Regions from separate parts of the Homo sapiens genome. Here regions 2 and 3 are each linked to region 1. The links are contacts of gene promoters, found by promoter capture Hi-C in blood cells and fetal thymus (Javierre and others, 2016). All regions are on one chromosome and are shown on one strand. Each heading gives the region's core, a stretch centred on a gene start or on the middle of the fragment in contact. The rest is flanking DNA. Distances are from core to core; before and after follow the strand shown. Region 1 holds the start of FBXO2 (F-box protein 2). Region 2 holds the start of ANGPTL7 (angiopoietin like 7). Region 3 has its middle 3.9 kb from the start of MTOR.

The links. The method cuts DNA at HindIII sites, captures the fragments that hold promoters and counts their contacts. A CHiCAGO score of 5 or more calls a contact.
Region 2: the fragment with the promoter of ANGPTL7 here is called in contact with the fragment with the promoter of FBXO2 in region 1 in 4 of 17 cell types (M1 macrophages, endothelial precursors, M2 macrophages and 1 more); the score reaches 8.6 in M1 macrophages.
Region 3: a fragment that was not itself captured here is called in contact with the fragment with the promoter of FBXO2 in region 1 in 7 of 17 cell types (activated CD4 T cells, endothelial precursors, total CD4 T cells and 4 more); the score reaches 9.9 in activated CD4 T cells.

Annotation. Positions count from the first base shown.
Region 1 is chr1:11,653,179-11,656,743 of GRCh38, forward strand. FBXO2 (F-box protein 2) reads right to left here and starts at 1,251. Exons shown (of 6, transcript NM_012168.6): 1 at 1,141-1,251. The coding sequence starts at 1,162. FBXO44 (F-box protein 44) reads left to right here and starts at 1,699. Exons shown (of 6, transcript NM_033182.7): 1 at 1,699-1,774; 2 at 2,628-2,922. The coding sequence starts at 2,658. RefSeq lists silencers at 1,201-1,340, 1,581-1,810, 1,861-1,930. The HindIII fragment of the contact is 12,019 bases long and covers 1-3,565 here.
Region 2 is chr1:11,187,507-11,191,578 of GRCh38, forward strand. It overlaps ANGPTL7 (angiopoietin like 7), which reads left to right and starts at 1,849. Exons shown (of 5, transcript NM_021146.4): 1 at 1,849-2,449. The coding sequence starts at 2,074. The region is part of intron 28 of MTOR (mechanistic target of rapamycin kinase); the gene reads right to left. RefSeq lists an enhancer at 2,202-2,702. The HindIII fragment of the contact is 1,155 bases long and covers 748-1,902 here.
Region 3 is chr1:11,264,448-11,268,519 of GRCh38, forward strand. No RefSeq gene overlaps it. Among named protein-coding and RNA genes, the nearest start is that of MTOR, 3.9 kb to the left of the region's middle. The HindIII fragment of the contact is 1,977 bases long and covers 1,383-3,359 here.

The DNA.
Region 1 (3,565 bases), core at 1-2,500:
TCCGGCCCTGGCCCCATCGGACACCTGATGCTCCCCGAAAGGTGCACCTCACCCAGTCCCCTCTTCTGGCCCCGGGGCCTGGCACTCGAGGCCCCAGATCCAATTACAGCTCCCCCCACCCTCTCTCTTACACACACAACTCCCCACATTGTTGCCGGCGGAAAGTTATCTGGCCCCTGGAAGCTGCCTGCCTGCGAGGCTGACTCACTCACCTGGAGTGGGCCCCAGAGTCCAGGGTATAGCTGATCCCTGGGAAAAAGCAGGAGCCAGTTCTGGAGCCCTACAGAGGGTGTGGCCAGAAGGCCGTGGATTGGGAGCAAGGGCTGCGAGAGCTGGAATTTTCAGGGCTGGAGGCGGGGGAATGGGGGGTGAGGGGGGGCCTGAGCTTTCATCAGTCTGTTTGCCACCGCCTAACCCAAGCAATGCCCATCCCCAGCTGGACCTGATGAGGAAAGAGTGAGGGCTGTCTGCAGGCAGGTCTTGTTTCCATCCTGACTCAGCAGGCAACCCCTGCAGGCCCCGCAGGGAGTTGGAGGGATGGGGGTGAGGGGTCTTGGGTGCCAGAGAGGATGACTGGGCAGCCTGGGAAGGCCCTGAGCACCAGCCAAAGCTGCCCCCAACGCTCCCTCACCGCTAGTCGGGTCCCCACTGGGCATCTCACCACCCCGGGGAGGGGCAGCCCCTCCAGACAAGGGAGCTCAGGAGGAAGGCAGGAATAGGTGAGGCCAGGCCTGGGACCCCAAGGAACCCACGGGGATTCAGACGGCCCAAGGCCCAGAGCTGGAAGAGCTGATGAAAGAAAAGGCTCGCAGCCTCCCTCCCAGACGCATCCCAGGCCCCCGCCAGACAGACCCTCAGGAAGCTGGGAGGCGGGAATGTGGGGGTCCTCTGGTGCTACTTCCTGGCTAAATGGGACCCAGGAGTTCTCTCTCCTTGCCAGTCGCCTCTCAAGGCCTCCCGCCAGACCAAGATAGCAGAGAGACGTGCTCTTTGGAGACCGCCTCTAGGGCTTCGCTGGCGTGAAAGTTTGCCGCGCCAGGTCTCCGGGTCCCCTCGCTCTCTGACGCCCCTCTGTGCAGCGCTCGCCCGCCGACCCCATCTCCCCTCCCCGCCGCAGCGAGCGGTCCAGGCGTCGGCTACCTGGGTCACCGTCTCCGTCCATCGCTGCGGAGGGCGGTCGCGAGAGGAGGAGCCGGAGCGCTGCGGGCTGCGCGAGTCCCGGGGCGGCGAGTCCCGGCGCTGTCCGCGTCTGTGTCGGTCCCGGCGACCGCGCCTCTTAAAGGCCCCCGACCCGACCCGCCCCGCCCCGCCTCTGGCCCCGCGCCCGGCCGCCCCGCAGTCCCAGCAGTCTGCTCGAGGCCCGGGGCTGCGGGTTCCTCAGCGGACCGAGGAGGCTGGGAAAGGTCAGGAGTCGTTTTTTTTCCAACTGGGGAGGGGTCCGATTTGGGGCATCTCGCAGCTCGCTCCTGGGGGACTGCTGGGAGGAGGCGGCTAGGGGAGGCACGGAGAGGCTGGGTCAGGCCGAGGGTGAGGGGCGGGTGGCCCAGGCGGAGTCGGAGTATAGGAGGTGCCTTCCGCCCCACCCCCCACACCAGGTAATTTTCCTACGACGCGGTGGGGGTGCGTCCCTGGCCCAGCGCTGCGCGGGGCGGGGCGCGGGGCGCGGGGGCGGGGCCTGGCGGGCCGGGGCGGGGCCTCGCTTTCCAGGCAAGCGCAGGTCCAGGCGGTGCAGCTTGGGCGGCCCAACGGATCGTGCCGCGGCGGCCGAGCGCAGGTGACCGGCAGGAGGGGGCGCGGGGGGCGCTGGGGAGGGGGCGCGGCTGGGCGGGGGCTGCCGGGAAGGCTCCTGGGTTCCGGGTCGCGCCGCAGTTGCCGAGGGAGGCCTGGCACCGACCAGGCCCAGGCCGCCGAGCTTGCCCGGGCTGCGCTGCGCGGCTGCGAACGGGGGCTGGGGTCGCCATCGATGTACAGGGGTCCGAGCCCAGACTTTGGGGGGCATTTTAAGGCACAGCGTGGGAAGGGGAGGCTGCAGGCGCGCTGGCGGACTTGGGGCTGGCGGAGCCCAGCCGCGGGGCTGGGGGTGGGAGTGGGGGTGGGGAGATAGGAAGGGCCCTTCCCTGTCGCCCACCCTCTTGCCACTCCCACCTAGGCAGGAGATCATGTCCTCTGAGATCTTGAGAAGGTGGCTGGAGCCCTTTGGACCTCCGCGGGAGGCAGTGATAATTAGCCTCCTCCTCCCATCATGTTCTGAGGATGGGAGAGAGGATGGTGACGGCACCGGAGGCCTGGGGTGCTCTGCCCGGCTGCGCATTATATCCCCATTAAAGACTGGCCTACTGAAAAAGGCTGGCCCTGGAATCAAAGAAGATCCGGGCTTCTTCCCCCTCTGCCCTTATTTTTGACCTTGGGCAGTGCCTTCCACCTCTATTGTGAGAGGCCAGAGAAAAAAATCAGAGCTCACCTTTTATTAAAGTACCTGATGTGTCCCAAGCTCCTTGGACCGCCCCAGTGACCCCTGGAGGTAAGGCATCCATTTACAGAGAAGGAAACAGGCTGGGAGAGGCACCATGCTCTCCCGAGATAAATGGCAGAGCAGGGATGAGGCCTGCAGCATAGCTTTTCAACAGCTACAGGAGGGTGTCCAGAAGCCACAAGCCATGGCTGTGGGGAACATCAACGAGCTGCCCGAGAACATCCTGCTGGAGCTGTTCACGCACGTGCCCGCCCGCCAGCTGCTGCTGAACTGCCGCCTGGTCTGCAGCCTCTGGCGGGACCTCATCGACCTCGTGACCCTCTGGAAACGCAAGTGCCTGCGAGAGGGCTTCATCACTGAGGACTGGGACCAGCCCGTGGCCGACTGGAAGATCTTCTACTTCTTACGGAGCCTGCACAGGAACCTCCTGCACAACCCGTGCGCTGAAGGTGGGGTACAGGCCGGGTCTGGCATGCCTCCAGTACACAGTCATGACACCAGGAACATGTATTGAGCACTTAGTATGAGCCGGGTACTTTGGATGGTTTAACACCTTTACTTCTCTCACAGTAACCCAAAGAGGTAGCTACTGTTAGTGCACACATTTTTCAGATGGGCAAACTGAGGCCAAGAGTGGTGTTTCTTATTCTTACTATACTCTTTTTTTTTTTTTTTTTTTTTTGAGACGGAGTTTCACTCTGTCACCCAGGCTGGAGTACAGTGACACAATCTTGGCTCACTGTAACCTCCACCTCCCAAGTTCAGCCTCCCAAGTAGCTGGGATTACAGGCATGTGCCACCACACCTGGCTAATTTTTTTTTTTTTTTTAGATGGAGTCTCGCTCTGTTGCCCAAGCTGGAGTGCAATGGTGCGATCTCGGCTCACTGCAACCTCCACCTCCTGGGTTCAAGCGATTCTCCTGCCTCAGCCTCCCGAGTAGCTGGGATTACCGGTGCCCGCCACCACGCCCAGCTAATTTTTTGTATTTTTAATAGAGACACAGTTTCACCATGTTGGCCAGGCTGGTCTCAAACTCCTGGCCTCAGGTGATCTGCCCGCCTTGGCCTCCCAAAGTGCTGGGATTACACGCA
Region 2 (4,072 bases), core at 599-3,098, 470 kb before region 1:
GGTAATGCTCACTCACCTGCCACTCACCTCCTGCTGTATGGCCCTATTCCTAACAGGCCATGGACAAGTACAGGTCTGCAGCCTGGGGATTAGGGACCCCTGCTATACATGACTGTATGGTACATAGCACTTCTGTGGCATGTGGTTTAAGCTCAGTGTCATTTGATGGCCAGGAGATCCACTTGAAAATCCCTATTTTTAGCAGACCTTGTAGGATGCCAATATTTGGGGCCAGAGTCTCGTTACTAAAATGAATGCTATGGAGCTAAGGCTGTGGTGCCCAGCTGGGCTAGACATTTGCAAAAAGAGAGCAGACTGGCAGACAGTGCCAATTCTCAACAGAATCTTTTGATTAGAATGCCAAGTTGCTATAAGGGTATCAGTAACATCCTCACCCTTTAGCAGGCAAAGGAGGCTGGGTATGTGAGAAAACAAACTCTGATCCACCTGATCCTCCACTGCTTTTTGATTCTGAGAAAAAAAAAAATTGTTCAGTAACTCCAGCTGCCTGAACAGAAATTACTTTCTGAGGAGCTAGAAGCCCTGACTGGAAAAGAGCTCTGGGGGATTATGGCATGGGAGGAGAGCTGTCAGGCATCAGGCTTATGTGGGAAGGACCCACGCTGACTACAACAGTACAAGTAACTGCCTGAGTGGCTCCATAACATGGAAACAGCAATCGTATGTTCCAAAGACAGAGTTACTGTTTTAAGGACAGAGGAACCTTTGTATAGATTCTTAGTGAAAAGCTTATTTTAAGGATGTTTGCTGAAACTCCATGTTTTTCACATTTCTTTTCAAAAGAGCATTGTCCTTCATATATAGTACATGAAAAATTACAATATTCATGTTTTTTAGATACAAAGTCATATACAAATAGAGGAGGAATAATTTCAAATTGCAAACCATACCAGCAAAGAAAGAGGGAAATGAGACTCTAGATATGGATTTATTAGGTGACAGGGATTCTTTTCTCTATATTTTAATATATTTTCCAAGTTTTGAACCACGGGCTAAGGATGGGCCTGTTCTCTGTCCTGCCTAGAAACTGACAGAAGCATGGGTGACCAATCCCAGACATGCTTGGCACTGCTGAGTTTTCATCTCTGTTGTAATCTTCTGACACCTCCTTGCAAAATATCAAGTGTTATATGCTAATACTGGCCCTCTCTTTGTTGAAGGAGAAAGCATGTAAAAAGACAACTGTCCAAACCCTGTGGCTACAAAGTCTTTTTTTGGCTTCCTAAGAGATTTACTCTATTCTTCTATTTCTAGAACTTTTCTAAGTTGGAAGATTTCAAATGTGAGATAGTGTTAGATCCAGGTTGAGTAAGGATTTTATAAAATACTAAATAATGATCAGAGATGGGAATAATCAGCCTAGATAAAAGCATATTCAGCAGGATGTCAAAATATACCAGATCCTCATATAAACAGCATGGATTACATTAACAGGCCTCCCTGGGTGAGTAGCGTCTCTTTCGCCTACCTTACGCTCACCCCATGGTTATATAACCTTTTGAACGGAATTTGGAAATTCTTCTGACCCTGTCCTGCTTGCTGATAGAGTTGAGCCAGTGGCTGGCAGGGGCATAATCTAATAGGCGAAACTGGAAACACACAAATTCACAGTCCTCTTGTCTTAGCCCAGAGACTGTACAGGCAAGGAAAGAAAGACTCGCCCCATCTCCCTCCTCCCCTCCTCTGGCCTAAGTTGCCGCTGACTTCACCCAACAGGCACCTGACCCTCCCAGATGAGCTGGGAGGGGCTAAAGCCTGGTGCAGCCATGGTAGGGGTGGAGGTACAGGCAGCAAACAATATTTAAGATGCTGACTTGTGGAGCATTCGGGCTTGGAAGGAAAGCTATAGGCTACCCATTCAGCTCCCCTGTCAGAGACTCAAGCTTTGAGAAAGGCTAGCAAAGAGCAAGGAAAGAGAGAAAACAACAAAGTGGCGAGGCCCTCAGAGTGAAAGCGTAAGGTTCAGTCAGCCTGCTGCAGCTTTGCAGACCTCAGCTGGGCATCTCCAGACTCCCCTGAAGGAAGAGCCTTCCTCACCCAAACCCACAAAAGATGCTGAAAAAGCCTCTCTCAGCTGTGACCTGGCTCTGCATTTTCATCGTGGCCTTTGTCAGCCACCCAGCGTGGCTGCAGAAGCTCTCTAAGCACAAGACACCAGCACAGCCACAGCTCAAAGCGGCCAACTGCTGTGAGGAGGTGAAGGAGCTCAAGGCCCAAGTTGCCAACCTTAGCAGCCTGCTGAGTGAACTGAACAAGAAGCAGGAGAGGGACTGGGTCAGCGTGGTCATGCAGGTGATGGAGCTGGAGAGCAACAGCAAGCGCATGGAGTCGCGGCTCACAGATGCTGAGAGCAAGTACTCCGAGATGAACAACCAAATTGACATCATGCAGCTGCAGGCAGCACAGACGGTCACTCAGACCTCCGCAGGTAAGGAGACCAGTCCCCTGAGGGAGCGTGGAGTGCCTCCCCATCTACAGCACTGCTTCTACATATCCTGGTCATCAGAACCACTACTGGGGCCTCTTTTGTGGGTACACTTTCCCTTTAGTAAAGGCTTATGCAGTATTTCCTTTGACTTCTAATGCTATGTAAGTTTACCTAACACCTTCACGGGTCTCTTTTATCCACACAGTGTTTCAGCCTACCATCTTGGAGTGCTGAGATACTACATGGTTTGCCCAAAGTCACCCAGCAAGTCTTAGAAGCAGGGTTCAAGTCTTCCTGATTGGTGTAGCTCTGCTACTTCCTCACCAAGAGCTGACAGGCTATATCTCAAGAAATTCCAAGGAAGCACCAAACTGTAACAGCTGTTCCTCTGGAAGCAAAGTTTTGCCAGAAACAGTTCTCTGGTGTTCCTAAGATTTACCAGGAATGAGCATTAATGGAATTTTGTGTCCTCTCTCTGTAAACGTAACTCTTCTCATTGGCTCAGAGTTAAGTGTAGAGACACATAACCATGTGAAGAGTCCCTTTGTGTTCAGGAAGGATGCGGCTCCTTAAGGTTCCTCAATTGTGATACGTCTATTTTTTTCCATGGTCTTAAATGAATTTCTCCGAATACAGGATTTTTTAAATGCAATGCTGAAATATAGACTTAATAGGCCAAAAATAAGATAAATTTAATCTTTCTTTTGCAAAATAACTTTTATTTCTGGTTAGCTCAGCTCAGGTGGGCCAACATGAATTTACGGTTTAGAGATAAAAATTTGGTTTTCTGAAATTATCAGGAAAATATTAGTTGTAAGGAGCATATCCTATAGACATGTCATTTCTTGCTGATATAAAAACCATTGGTCCCATTATAAACTACATGAAGAACAAAGACATGATCAGCTTCTACTGACTAAGTCAATGGTTAACCTCAGCTCAAATTAAGAAAAAGTTTTAACATGAAACCAAGCTTGAAAATTCTGTTACCTGAACCAACATGTATCAATCACTTTCTAAGCATGGACTTCCGGGCCCTCAGTTTGGGATTAGAAAGGTATTCTCAGGCCATTTTCCAGACAAGTGAGTCCTGATTTGGTCTGTGAGATGAAACCAGACATGCGGAAGACCAGGCCAGACAGAGGAATCTGACCGTGCCACTTCCTGCTCATCCAAACAGGAGGCTTTCTCACCATCCTGCAAGGAGGTTCTTGGGGTCAAGTGCAGCTCTCCCACCAGGTCTCTTGCTCTTCTTGCCCAGGACATCATTCCTTATTTTTCTTCTCTATGACCAAGTGCTCAGTTACCCTTATATTCTATAAGTAGGTAGTCCCTTAGAGGAAGCAGTAAGTTGGTGCTTTCACCACTAAGACGAAATGAAGAATAGTGATGGCGAAGGCACACGTACTCTACCTCCCTTTCCCAAGGTGCTCTGCAAGAGAACCTATGTGCCTCAGACAACTCCCATCTGCCATCTTGGTGCTCCTCTCTAAGGTCCCAGTGCAGTGGTCACCAAGAAAAGCACCCCGAGACATAGCAGGCAGGAAGCTTCTCTTGGATAGTAAGGGCCGCAGTCTCTGAATCCTATCAGAAAAGGCTGTCTCTTCCACTATGCTCTTTGAT
Region 3 (4,072 bases), core at 1,121-3,620, 390 kb before region 1:
AATAATAACAATAAATAGTGGTAATTAGATGAATATTTGCTAAGAAGGAAAAGGTTCACAACTAGTTTAAAAATTACAAGTTGTGCAACAATGTAAGTATAATACAACCATTTACAAAAATATTTATGCATTTCTTATATGTCTCTGTTTACATGGGGGAAATGTGCACAACTAAGATGTAATTTGGGAAAGACACACTTTTTTTCTTTATACATTATCAATTACTTATGTAATAAAAACAAGTGAAGGTAGAAGAAATGAGTTTTCAGAAGGTCTAAACTGCCAAATTAAAGATAGTTGGGCTGGGTGCGGTGGCTCACACCTGTAATCCCAGCACTTTGGGAGGCCAAAGCAGGAAGATTGCATGAGCCCAGGCATTTGAGACCAGCCTGGGCAACATAGTGAGACTCCATCTCAAATAAATAAATAAATAAACAAATAAAGATGTCAATATTCCGTGGCTAACAAAATGCTTTGTTTGGCAGGGTTTTTGTTGTTGTTGTTGTTATTGTTAATATCTATGATATTGGCCAGGCACAGTGACCCAACACTTTGGGAGGCTGAGGCAGGTGGATTGTTTGAGCCCACCTGGGCAACATGGTGAAACCTCATCTCTACAAAAAATGCAAAAAATTAGTTGGTGTGGTGGCATGCACCTGTGGTCCCAGCTACTTAAGAGGTTGAGGTGGGAGGATCACTTGAGCCCAGGAGGTCAAGGCTGCAGTGAGCTGTGATCTCACCACTGCACCACTGCATTCCATCCTGAGTTGACAGAGTGAGACACTGTCTCAAAAAAAAAAAATTATATATATATATATATAAATATATATATATATATAATTGCTCCTTTTTTTTGAGACAGAATCTTACTCTGTCACCCAGGCTGGAGTGCAGGGGAGCCATCTCACCTCACTGCAACCTCTGCCTCCCAGGTTTAAGCGATTCTCTTGCCTCAGCCTCTCGAGTAATAATGGCTACTTTAGATTTAGCCTCTTTTCATTGCTCCTGTGAGATAAGTATTCCTCTAAATTTTACATTTTCACTGATGTTCAATTTTTTTTTTTTTTTTTTTTTTTAGATGGAGTCTCGTTCTGGTACCCAGGCAGGAGTGCAGTGGCGCAATCTCGGCTCACTACAACCACCGCCTCCTGGGTTCAAGTGATTCTCGTGCCTCAGCCTCCTGAGTAGCTGGGATTACAGGCACCTGCCACCACACCCAGCTAATTTTTGTATTTTTAGTAGAGACAGGGTTTCGCCATGTTGGCCAGGCTGGTCTTGAACTCCTGACCTCAGGTGATCCGCCTGCTTCAGCCTCCCAAAGTGCTGGGATTACAGGCGTGAGCCATTGTGCCTGGCCCAACATCTATATTTTTATCATTAAAAGCTTCTAATATGCAATATAGTCGCTATTCAAATCTCAAAATAAACAAGTTACATTTATCATGAAAAGTCTTGCTCCACCCTTGCCCCTTGACTATGTATTTTCTCAGTTTCTTATGCATCCCTAGATTTTCTGTCTGCAAAAACAAGCAAATATATACGTATGTATATTCCTTTTTTTTTTTTTTTTTTTTTTTGAGACAGAGTCTCACTCTGTCGCCCAGGCTGGAGTGCAGTGGCATGATCTTGGCTCACTGCAACCTCTGCCTCCCAGGTTAAAGTGATTCTCCTGCCTCAGCTTCCCCAATAGCTGGGATTACATGTCTGTGCCATCATGCGTGGCTAATTTTTTTATTTTTAGTAGAGACAAGGTTTCACCACATTGGCCAAGCTGGTCTCAAACTCCTGACCTCAGTTGATCCGCTTGCCTCAGCCTCCCAAAATGCTAGGATTACAGGCACGAGCCACCATGCCCAGCCCATACATATATTTTTATTTTCCCCTTTTGTTATACTATACGCACTATTTTGCATTTTTAAAATTTTACTGCATCTTGTAGATCTTTCTCTTGTAGTTCCAACAGGATTCTATGCCTGCTGCACAGCAACAGTTGACCAATGCAATGAGACAGCAGAGTCTGCAGCAGAGAAAGAGTTTAGTGATCGCAGGGCAGCCAACTGAGGAGATGGGAGTGTTACCAGCGCTGAATTTACATGGTCTGCAGCAAGCTCAGTTCTTGCCTCCTCAGAAGAAAGAATTCAACTGAGGGGCATAAGGCAGAGTGAGAGACTGAGGCAAGTTTTAGAACAGGAGCGAAGTTTATTAAAGAGCTTTAGAGCAGGAATGAAAGGAAGTAAAGGACACTTGGAAGAGAACCAAGCAGTTGACCTGAGAGATCAAGTGCGCTGTTTGACCTTGACTCGGGGTTGGCATACTTCCAGGGTCTTGCATCCCTTCTCCCCTGATTCTTCCCTTGGGGTGGGCTGTCCACATGCATGGTGGCCTGTCAGCACTTGGGTAGGGGCGCATGTGCAGTGTGTTTACTGGAGTTGTGGGCATGCTCACTCAAGATGTGTTTCCCTTACCAGTCCAGTGTTCCTAGAGGAAGATCATCGGCGATTTTGCCTGTTAGTGATCATCTGCGATTTTGCCTCTTAGTGCCCATGCTTGAGCCTACTCGCCCAGCTCCTGAGATCTTATGGGAAGCTGCTGATCACCAGTTTCAGGTGTTTCTATCTTTTGGGAGACTGCCTTTCTCTGGCACCAGCTGCAATCAATTATTATTTTAGCGAGATAGCTTAACAACTGCCTGACCATCACCCAATGGTTGCTTGACATTCCTGGGGTTAGGGGGTGGGGGCCTCTCCTGCTCTGCTCATGCCTGACTAGCTATCTACTGTAACAGGAGGAGACCTTCAAATCCATCTCCCCAAGGAATTCTGAGCTGGGTTTGTTTGTTTGTTTGTTTGTTTTGTTTTTTCTTGAGACAGAGTCTCGCTCTGTTGCCCAGGCTGGAGTGCAGTGGCAGGATCTCAGCTCACTGCCACCTCTGCCTCCCAGGTTCAAGCAATTCTTGTGCCTCAGCCTTTTGAGTAGCTGGGATTATAGGTGTGTGCCACCATACCCGGCTAATTTTTGTATTTCTAGTAGAGACACGGTTTCACCGTGTTGGTCAGGCTGGTCTCAAACTCCTGACCTCTTGATCTGCCCACCTCGGCCTCCCAAAGTGCTGGGATTACAGGAGTGAGCCACCGTGCCCGGCCTGAGCTGGGGTTTTTAAGGGGATTGTAGAGGGGGAGAGGCTGGAAATTTGGTATCGTTTATGGGTTGGGGTAAAGGGGGTGAAATCATCAGGATGTAGAAACTGCATTCTTTGGTGAGTTAGCTCCCTGTGGGGTCTTTCACAATGGCTGTCATCAGTAGTTTCACTGATATGCAGGACCTGAAAGAATACCTCAGGTGGAAAACAATGTTTTGCAAGCTTAAGTTGTCTGATGACAGGGTCCGCATGATTCTGGGACAGTAGGCAGCAAACAACTATGAGGAAATGGCTCAGAGTTCAACATGACCTCATGATGAATGCTGAATGTGCTGCAAGCTTTGTTTATTTTCATTTCTCTCCCTCCCTTCCTCCCTGATTTATTTTATTTTATTTTGAGATGGAGTCTCACTCGGAGTGCAGTGGTGTGATCTCAGTTCACCGCAACCTCCACCTCCCGGGTTCAAACGATTCTCCTGCCTCAGCCTCCCGAGTGGCTGGGATTACAGGTGTGCGCCACCATGCCAGCTAATTTTTGTACTTTTTTTTTTTTTTTGAGACCAAGTCTCGCTCTGTAGCCCAGGCTAGAGTGCAGTGGCGTGATCTCAGCTCACTGCAACCTCTGCCTCCCAGGTTCAAGCAATTCTCCTGCCTCAGCCTCCAGAGTAGCTGGGATTACAGGTGTGCACCTCGGCAGAGTAGCTGGGATTATAGGCGCACCCCACTGTACCCGGCTAATTTTTTGTATTTTTAGTAAAGACAAAGTTTCACCATGTTGGCCAGGCTGGTCTTGAACTCCTGACCTCAGGTAATCTGCCTGCCTCAGCCTCGCAAAGTGCTAGGATTACAGGTGTGAGCCACTGTGTCCAGCCTAATTTTTGTATTTTTAGTAGAGACGGGGTTTCACAATGTTGGCCAGGCTGGTCTCGAACT